Linked DNA regions of Homo sapiens: regions 1 and 3 are each linked to region 2. Evidence: promoter capture Hi-C in 16 types of primary human blood cells and fetal thymus (Javierre and others, 2016). All regions are on one chromosome and are shown on one strand. The core of a region is centred on a gene start or on the middle of the fragment in contact, and the rest is flanking DNA. Distances in the headings are between cores, read along the strand shown. Region 1 holds the start of KPNA1 (karyopherin subunit alpha 1). Region 2 overlaps HACD2 (3-hydroxyacyl-CoA dehydratase 2). Region 3 holds the start of WDR5B (WD repeat domain 5B).

What was found. Contacts are between HindIII fragments. The CHiCAGO score rates a contact against its expected background, and 5 or more counts as called.
Region 1: a contact is called between the fragment with the promoter of KPNA1 here and a fragment that was not itself captured in region 2, in 1 of 17 cell types (naive CD8 T cells). The highest score is 5.4, in naive CD8 T cells.
Region 3: a contact is called between the fragment with the promoter of WDR5B here and a fragment that was not itself captured in region 2, in 3 of 17 cell types (non-activated CD4 T cells, total CD8 T cells and naive CD4 T cells). The highest score is 6.9, in non-activated CD4 T cells.

The regions. Positions count from the first base shown.
Region 1 is chr3:122,513,545-122,516,244 of GRCh38, reverse strand. It overlaps KPNA1 (karyopherin subunit alpha 1), which reads left to right and starts at 1,306. Exons shown (of 14, transcript NM_002264.4): 1 at 1,306-1,488. LOC107984000 (a long non-coding RNA gene) reads right to left here and starts at 1,216. Exons shown (of 2, transcript XR_924403.3): 1 at 1,117-1,216. RefSeq lists a silencer at 1,339-2,028. The HindIII fragment of the contact is 3,104 bases long and covers 917-2,700 here.
Region 2 is chr3:123,577,649-123,580,573 of GRCh38, reverse strand. The region is part of intron 2 of HACD2 (3-hydroxyacyl-CoA dehydratase 2); the gene reads left to right. Among named protein-coding and RNA genes, the nearest start is that of HACD2, 5.9 kb to the left of the region's middle. The HindIII fragment of the contact is 5,964 bases long and covers 1-2,925 here.
Region 3 is chr3:122,414,730-122,417,447 of GRCh38, reverse strand. It overlaps WDR5B (WD repeat domain 5B), which reads left to right and starts at 1,386. Exons shown (of 1, transcript NM_019069.4): 1 at 1,386-2,718. The coding sequence starts at 1,920. It overlaps WDR5B-DT (WDR5B divergent transcript), which reads right to left and starts at 1,242. Exons shown (of 3, transcript NR_125405.1): 1 at 1,198-1,242. RefSeq lists enhancers at 1-588, 692-891, 1,052-1,101, 1,132-1,371, 589-1,406 and 1 more. The HindIII fragment of the contact is 1,055 bases long and covers 738-1,792 here.

The sequences.
Region 1 (2,700 bases), core at 57-2,556, 1.1 Mb after region 2:
GAAGACCGGCTCTGAATAATCAGTCTTAGTTCCTTATTGGAATAAGGTGATCTGTCTTCAGTCTAGCTGTGGTCAGGCAAACTTGCCCTTAAGTCTCTCCTGTTGAACACACCTTCCCTTTCCCCAGCCCCCTTGCTCAAACTCAACTCTGATCTTAGTAAACACAACATCAGCGGGAGAATGCTGATGCAGCAGAGAGAAGTCCAGGACAAATGAACATTGCATAACCTAGGATTCAGGTAGAGTGGTCCTCTCTCCTCTCCTCTTCCCTGGGACATTTATAAATGTATTAATCTACCTCATCTCTTTCACCTTGCTTCTTGGCATGTGTTTTAAATCTGTCTACTATTCCGTGATCCCTGCTAGGCTGGCTTCAGTTTTTCTTCTTTTGAAGCCACTACTCCATTTGCTCCCCCAAAGAATTCCATGAAATTTAACATTAGCAATCATTTGCTCCAAGTTTTCGTTTGAGAGCAGTTGAGAGTAAAACGAGTATGTGTTTCATGTAGTTTCATTATTATTATTATTATTATTGTTATTATTATTTTTGAGGCAGGGTCTCACTCCGGTTGCCCAGGCTGGAGTGTAGTGGCGCGATCTCGGCTCACTGCAGTCTCACCGTCAACCCCGGGCTCAGGTGATTCTCCCACCTCAGCCTCCCGAGTAGCTGGGACTTCAGGCGCCCGTCACCACCCCCTGCTAATTTTTGTGTTTTTAGTAGAGACGGGGTTTCGCCATGTTGCCCAGGCTAGTCTCAAAACTCCTAGCCTCAAGTGATCCACCCACCTCGGCCTCCCAAGGTGCTGGGATTACAGGTGTGAGCCACCGCGCCCGGCCCTTAATTATTTTTGATACTACGCATACGTTATCAAGCAAAGGGGATGGGAGATAACTAAAAAAGGAATGTCCAGAAGCTTCCTGCATTCATGCTGCATGTGAGCCCTTTAGACACGAGGCGCTGACCTACTAATTTTGTAATACTCCCTCAGCCTTCAATCATTCCATCATTCATTCCATCAACGCGTATTAGGTACTTAGAAGCTATACAGAGGTGAGCATCGATCCGCCCTGGAAGAGCTTAGCAAAGACAGGTTTGTACATATAACTTTCTCCAACCTTTGCCATGGTCTGCAAACCTCCTTCTTAGCGAGACCCCCTCCCCGACCCCCGACTCTTCACAGGCTGGGCGCTAACCATTAGGAATGTCCGGCGAGAGAGCGTTACAAGACTACGTCTCCCGGCAGCCTCTGCGACAAGCGCCGGAGGGGCGCGCGTAGGCGCTCGGGCCGGCCCCCGCACGCAGGCGCACTGCGAACGCCGGCTGAGCTGAGTCTCGCTGCTCGGTGCGAGGCGGCGGAGAGCGAGGCCTGGTGAGCACCGCCGAGGCGCGGGCCAGCTCTTCGAGGTTGTGCGCGGGAGTGGCACGGCGGGCGGGCGAGCGAGGGGCTAACTTCAGCGGTGGCACCGGGATCGGTTGCCTTGAGCCTGGTGAGTGCTGGGGCCTTGCGGCCCCGGCCCCTCCCCCTCCCGCCGGCAGATCCGGGCAGTCCCGGAGGGACTCAGGAGAGGCCCTGGGGCGAGGGCGGGTGCCGGCAGGGCCTAGAGCCGGGGTTCCTGGGCCGGACGCTCGCGCCGCGTCCGTGCGTCACGGGCCCGGCTGTCCTAACGGCCACAAGGCCGGCGGAGGAGAGGGTGGGGGTGGGGAGCCCTGGTGTGATCGCCATCGGGAACGCCGGTCGAGGCTAGGCGGGGCGGGGCGGCGTGGCGCGGCGGCGGGGCTGTAAGCGGCGCCGGGGACTGCGGGGCGCCGAGGCAGCGGGCGGAGAGGAGGCGAGCGCGGAGCCTGCGCCGCGGCCGGGCGGCGGGCGGGAGGCGGGGGTGGGCCGCGCAGAGCGCTGTGACAGAGGCAGGAAGGAGCAGGGGTGGCGTGTAAAAATTCTAACCCTGGCAAAAAGGGACCGTCTTGGGAATTCACAAGTTACAGACCGGGTCGGAGCCGGCGGCCCGGAGGGAGGTGGGGGAAGCGGGGGGTGGAGACGGCCGGCTGCAGTTTACCGATGTCATAACAACATGGGCCTGGAGCGGCTGATCGGGGGTGTGGTAATTATAGCAATGACAGAACTTGGTCTGCACGCCGCGTGTGCGATGCGAGGGAAGCAGCGAGGTATCGGATTAAGCTCAAAACGGGAGGAGGAAACAAGGATGACTGGAGTCAAGGAAGTCGTCATGAAGTAATGTTTTAGGATTGGGTCGTGTTCCACTTTTAAATGAAAGCGTTCAAAATATTTGATTTTTAAGGTTTCAACTCAGAACAAACGATTGCCGAGTTTTTGTTTGTATTTTAAAGAGATGGGGTCTCGCTATATTGCCCAGGCTGTACTCCAACTCCTGAGCTCAAACTGTCCTCTTGCCTCAGCTTCCCAAGTAGCTGGGACTAGTCTTGGGCAACCACACCCAGCTCTGCAGAGTATTTTTTTTTCTGAAACGTACTGTCAAGTAATATTAACTTGAATTTCACCCTTTTTTCTTAAATAAACGGTTGCTTAAAAATCTCTATTAGTAGATGAAGTGATTTCCCCCCTCCTGTTTTGTTTTTTTTTTTCTTAAGAGATGGAGTCTTGCTTTGTTTCCCGGGCTGATCTGGAACTCCTGGCCTCAAGGCATCCTCCCTACTAGCTGGAACTACAGGCGGATGCCACC
Region 2 (2,925 bases), core at 342-2,841:
TGGCTCAAGCAATCTTCCCATCTCAGCCTCCCAAAGCACTGAGATTACAGGCGTGAACCACTGCACCCAGCCCACTCTCACTTTATTTATTTATTTTTTTGAGAGAGGGTCACTCTGTCACCCAGGCTGAAGTGCAGTGGTGTGATCACTGCTCACTGCAGCCTTGACTTCCCAGGCCCCAGCCATCCTCCCACCTCATCCTCCCAAGTAGCTGGGACCACAGGCGTGCACTACCGTGCCTGGCTCATTTTTATATTTTTGGTAGAGGTGAGGTTTGGCTGTGTTTCCCAGGCTGGATTCACTCTCACGTTCTAGATCAGAAAGTTATCCATTTTGCTTTTGTTTTTTTCTCTTAGAAGGCAGAGGAATTTCTTTTTTTCTTTCTTTCTTTTTTCTTTTTTTTTTTTGACACAGGGCCTTACTCTGTTGCCCAGGCAGGAGTGCAGTGGTGGGATCTCGGCTCACTGCAACACAGAGGAATTTCAATAGTGTCCAAACTTAGGCATTTTAAGTAGGTGGTATGATGAAATGAGCTTCCAGCTGGAAGCCTGAGTACCTTTTTATTTTAAGTATAATAGTTTTCCCAACTGACTCTATAGATTTGGGCAAGTCTTTTCTCTCGTATCCACCTCCTTTTCATTTGTAAATAATTAGGTTAAAGTAGATTTCTAAAGTCCCTTACTACCCTAAATTTGAGTGTGAGGAAATTTTAACAAATCCTAATGTGAACCATTTTTTAAACTTAGAGGCTTGAACTTTTTTTGGAAGCGGACACTAGTAAATAAGTAGTACTTTCTCTTTCAGAACCTTGGCCAGTACAGTTCCCACAAGCTACAGAGAAGCAAATTTGGAGTCAAGACCATCAGACTTCCAGTACTTGATATAGTAGGGGGTTGTCCCCATTTGGAATACTTCAATAATTTAAAGGGGTTTCTATCTCTTTAAGACATCATAATATTAGAGCTGAGCACAGTGGCTCATGCTTATAGTCCCAGCAATCCCAGAGCTTTGGGAGGCCAAGGCAGGAGGATCACTTGAGGGCAAGAGTTCGAGACCAGCTTGAGCAACATAGCAAGACCTCATCTCTACAAAAAAAAAATTTTTTTTTTTTTAGCTGGGCTGGGTGGTGGGTACCTGTAGTCCCAGCTACTTGGGAGGCTGAAATGGGAGGCTTGAGCTTGAACCCAGGAGTTTGAGGCTGCAGCGAACTATGATTGCATCACTGCAATCCAGCCTGGATGACAGAGTGAGACCTTGTCTCAAAAAAAAAAAAACTTGGTAATGTTAGAAGTATAATTTTTAAAATTTAAGTATATCTTATGGAAGGTAGGGACATTAAACAGTGTCATACTTTAAAATCCACTCAGGAACCAAGTCTTAGACTTTGAAGGATTAGCCTGTTTATCCTTATAGAATTTTTAATAGGGATTTAGGAAAATATCTTGGATTTTTGGTTTTATCTCTGTTATCCCCACTAAGAACCAATTAAGTGACAAATCCTGGATTTGATTTTGGGAAAATGTCTGTGCATAAGGAAGTGAAGACTCCCAGGAACATGCAGGCAATTAACGTTGCAAAGGTCAGTGATGGAAGTAATCCCTTGGACTGGGCGATAGAGCAGGCTTGCTAAAACCACAATTTCTGTGGTTGAGGAGTTTTTCATTGCCTACCCCATCTACACTGTGTAATAATTAGATGTGTGTGGTATTGTTTAATTACACATAAGTTATCCTGATGGGAATTATTAGTGTTGACATATATCCTGTTTACAGGAGGAGAAAATGAATCCAGGGAAGGCAGCTACTCATTTATATCTCTTTATGCTAAATGTTATTCTTTATTAGGTTCTGTGGGAGTTTACTTAAAAAGGAAATCGAAATTACTTGTTCTCCAATTTCACATCTTCTTAAGAAAATAATAACACTTTGCTTTTTAAAAGACATAAAAACATTTACCAAGCAAGTACAAAGGAGCATGTAGTAGCAAGGTACAAAAGGAAGCCTGGCTGAGTACCATGGCTCACACCTGTAATCCCAGCACTTTAGGAGGCTGACATGGGGGGATTGCTTGAGGCCAGAAATTCAAGACCATCCTGGGAAACATAGCGAGACCCCATCTCTACAAAAAATTAAAAAATTGGCCAGGCATGGTAGCACATGCCTGTAGTCCCAGCTAATCAGGAGACTGAGGTGGGAGGATCACTTGTGCCCAGGAGTTCAAGGCTACAGTGAGCCATGATCGTGCCACTGCACTCCAGCCTGGGTGACAGAGCAAGACCCCATTTCCAAAAAAAAAAGTATCTATAAATAAAATGCTACTCATGGATAAAATGTGGTCTATGGATATAAACATTCATAAAATTAATAAAGGCAAATGAATTACTGATATATGCCTGGATAAATCTTGAAAAAATGCATGTGAAAGGAGGCAGATACAAAAAGTCACAAATAGTATGATTTCATTTATAAGAAATATCCAGAATAGGCAAATCCATAGTGACAGAAAGTAGAGGAATTGTTAGGGGCTGTGGGGAGAGAGAGTGGGGTGTGACTGCTAATGGTACAGGATTTCCTTTTAAGGTGATGATATTGTTCTTGAAATAGTGGTGGTGGGTGCACAACTCTGTGAACATATTAAAAACCACTAGATTGTACAGTTTAAAATTGTGAATTTTGTGGCATGTGAATTATATGTCAGTTTTTAAAAAACGAGTTCCTCTGTAATGAGTTGTGGGTGTTTTCTACTTTATTCATTTTTGGAGTCCATGATATTCATTGATGAGGCAGATGTTATCTTTGCATATTTGTCAAGTATAGTTAGATTAAAAATTAGTGGACTAATGCAGTTATGGCAGTTTAAAATTATGTTTGAGAGAATTTGGGTTTCTAAATATCTTTGGTTAACATAAGACTGTAATTATAGCAA
Region 3 (2,718 bases), core at 137-2,636, 1.2 Mb after region 2:
CATCGTGACCAGCCACCAGTAAAATCTTTTAAGCCACGTTTTTTCTGCTTTTCTTGGGCACTCTTTTTTTTTTTTTTTTTGAGACGGAGTCTCACTGTTGCCCAGGCTGGAGTGCACTGGTGGAATCTCAGCTTACTGCACCCTCCACCTCCTGGTTCATGCCATTCTCCCACCTCAGCCTCCTGAGTAGCTGGGACTACAGGCGTGCGCCATCACGCGCAGCTAATTTTTGTATTTTTAGCAGTATTGGTTGCGCCATGTTGGTCAGGCTGGTCTCGGACACCCGACCTAAAGTGTCCCGCCCGACTGGGCCTCCCAAAGTGCTGGGATTACAGGCGTGAGTGCTCGGCCTCGGGCACTCTTTACTGAGCAACAACAGGTTGGAGAAACTAGTAGGGCTTCCAGTTTTTTGGTAAACCTATTGTTTAAAAGTCTGCCTGGTCATCAGATTCCAGTCGTCTTGTTTCTGCCTCAGATGATAAAACTCTAAAATTATAGGATGTGAGATCTGGAAAATGTTTGAAAACACTAAAGGGGCACAGTAATTATGTCTTTCGTTGCAACTTCAATAGCATGTATATTTTACACACTTTCATGACCATTAATCATCTCCTAAAACTGGGGAAAGCTCTCTAAAACCTCCTTAAGAGTAACCTTATCCGTTACCCTATTCCACCAACCTCTTTGTCCTTTTCTGTTTCAAGCAACTTTGAGATACCGACTTCTCTATGGAAGCTTAAGCCGTAGATGCTAAAACAAACGTTTGCTCGTTACTCCCAGCAGAGCACCGGCTTTTAAAGGACCTCAACAGACACGTTTCTTAACCTTTACGAAACTTTTCCAGGGGAAACTTAAACCAGGAATTTTACAATCTGGCATAAATTCTGTCACCCGCCCCGTGACTCCATCGCCACACATGCCACCTGGCTCCACACCACAACAAACAGGAGGGAGCGGAACCCATGCAAAGCAGGAGCTTCCCCCGTTTCCGGCGTCTGGGTGGATCTACGTTAGCTGCCGTTTAGGCAGCTTACGCGTCAGGTGTGGGCCTAAGCCTGCAGCTAAGGTAGGCATCCGCAAATCTAGTCCTTCTCTGTGACAATTTCCAAAAAGAAATGGTTTTTGAAACAACGATCCACTGCTTCCCACACTATCCAGTTAGGTCCGGGACAGACCCTACCCAGCTAATGCACTCACCCAAGAAGGCAGTCGCTTTCGCATTTGAAGGGCGGGGCGAAAAAGACCGGAAATGAACATTGGCGACTTTTTTGCGCAGGCGCAGATGGCCGTCTCCCATTGGTCATCTCGGCTCGGTAGTGGTAGGAGGGACTTCCTTTGCACATGCGCCAGGCTGCTTTTCCGGCTTTGTTGGAGATTGACGCGGCAGTGCACACCTGCTGGTACGAGCAAAAGTAGCCGACAGGCCAGAGTTTCCAGTTTCGGTGGCTTCGTAGGCTTTTAGCTTCTGAAATCCGCTAAAAGCGGCGGTTCATTCATCTTCAAGTACCTAGCCTGACTGGTAGGGCTGCTCAGCATTCCGAAACATTTCGACCTGGGGAGGGGGGCGGCGGTGAAAGAATACTTTCTGTAGAGAGTGCCCCTCGCGTCGCCCCTGCTTTGAAGGCTTTATGTATTAACGGAATGCCGAACATTTGTGTCCTACTTGCTGACAGCGCACAGGATCCTTCTAACAGTATTTCTCAAGTACTTAACAAAAAGATGAAAACTTGAAGTCCAAGCCGTGCTGCTGATTCCGTCTCACAGTTTAAAGACTGTCCAGAAACTTTAAGCTTTCAAAACTGTACATTTTAAAATCCTGTGCGTTTATCTTCATTTTGCTGGGCAGAAAGCCAAAGTACTGGACTGCCTGGTTCAGGGCTGAACGCCTAGTACACCTGCTAACTTGGAGCTTCAGAGCCATGGCAACCAAGGAGTCAAGAGACGCCAAAGCACAGTTGGCCCTCTCCTCATCGGCCAATCAGAGCAAGGAAGTGCCTGAAAACCCAAACTATGCTCTCAAATGTACTCTTGTGGGACACACGGAAGCAGTGTCATCAGTTAAGTTTAGTCCTAATGGAGAATGGCTAGCAAGTTCTTCTGCTGATAGGCTAATCATAATTTGGGGAGCATATGATGGAAAATATGAGAAAACACTCTATGGTCATAATTTGGAAATATCGGATGTTGCCTGGTCATCAGATTCCAGTCGTCTTGTTTCTGCCTCAGATGATAAAACTCTAAAATTATGGGATGTGAGATCTGGAAAATGTTTGAAAACACTGAAGGGGCACAGTAATTATGTCTTTTGTTGTAACTTCAATCCGCCATCCAACCTTATAATCTCGGGATCTTTTGATGAGACTGTAAAAATATGGGAGGTGAAAACAGGAAAGTGTCTCAAGACTTTGTCTGCTCATTCTGACCCAGTTTCTGCTGTTCATTTTAATTGTAGTGGGTCCTTGATAGTGTCAGGTAGCTATGATGGCCTCTGTAGAATCTGGGATGCTGCATCAGGTCAGTGTTTAAAAACGCTCGTTGATGACGATAACCCTCCTGTCTCTTTTGTAAAATTTTCTCCAAATGGTAAATACATTCTCACTGCAACTTTGGACAACACTCTTAAACTATGGGATTATAGCAGAGGCAGGTGCCTGAAAACATACACTGGTCATAAGAATGAGAAATATTGCATATTTGCCAATTTTTCAGTTACTGGTG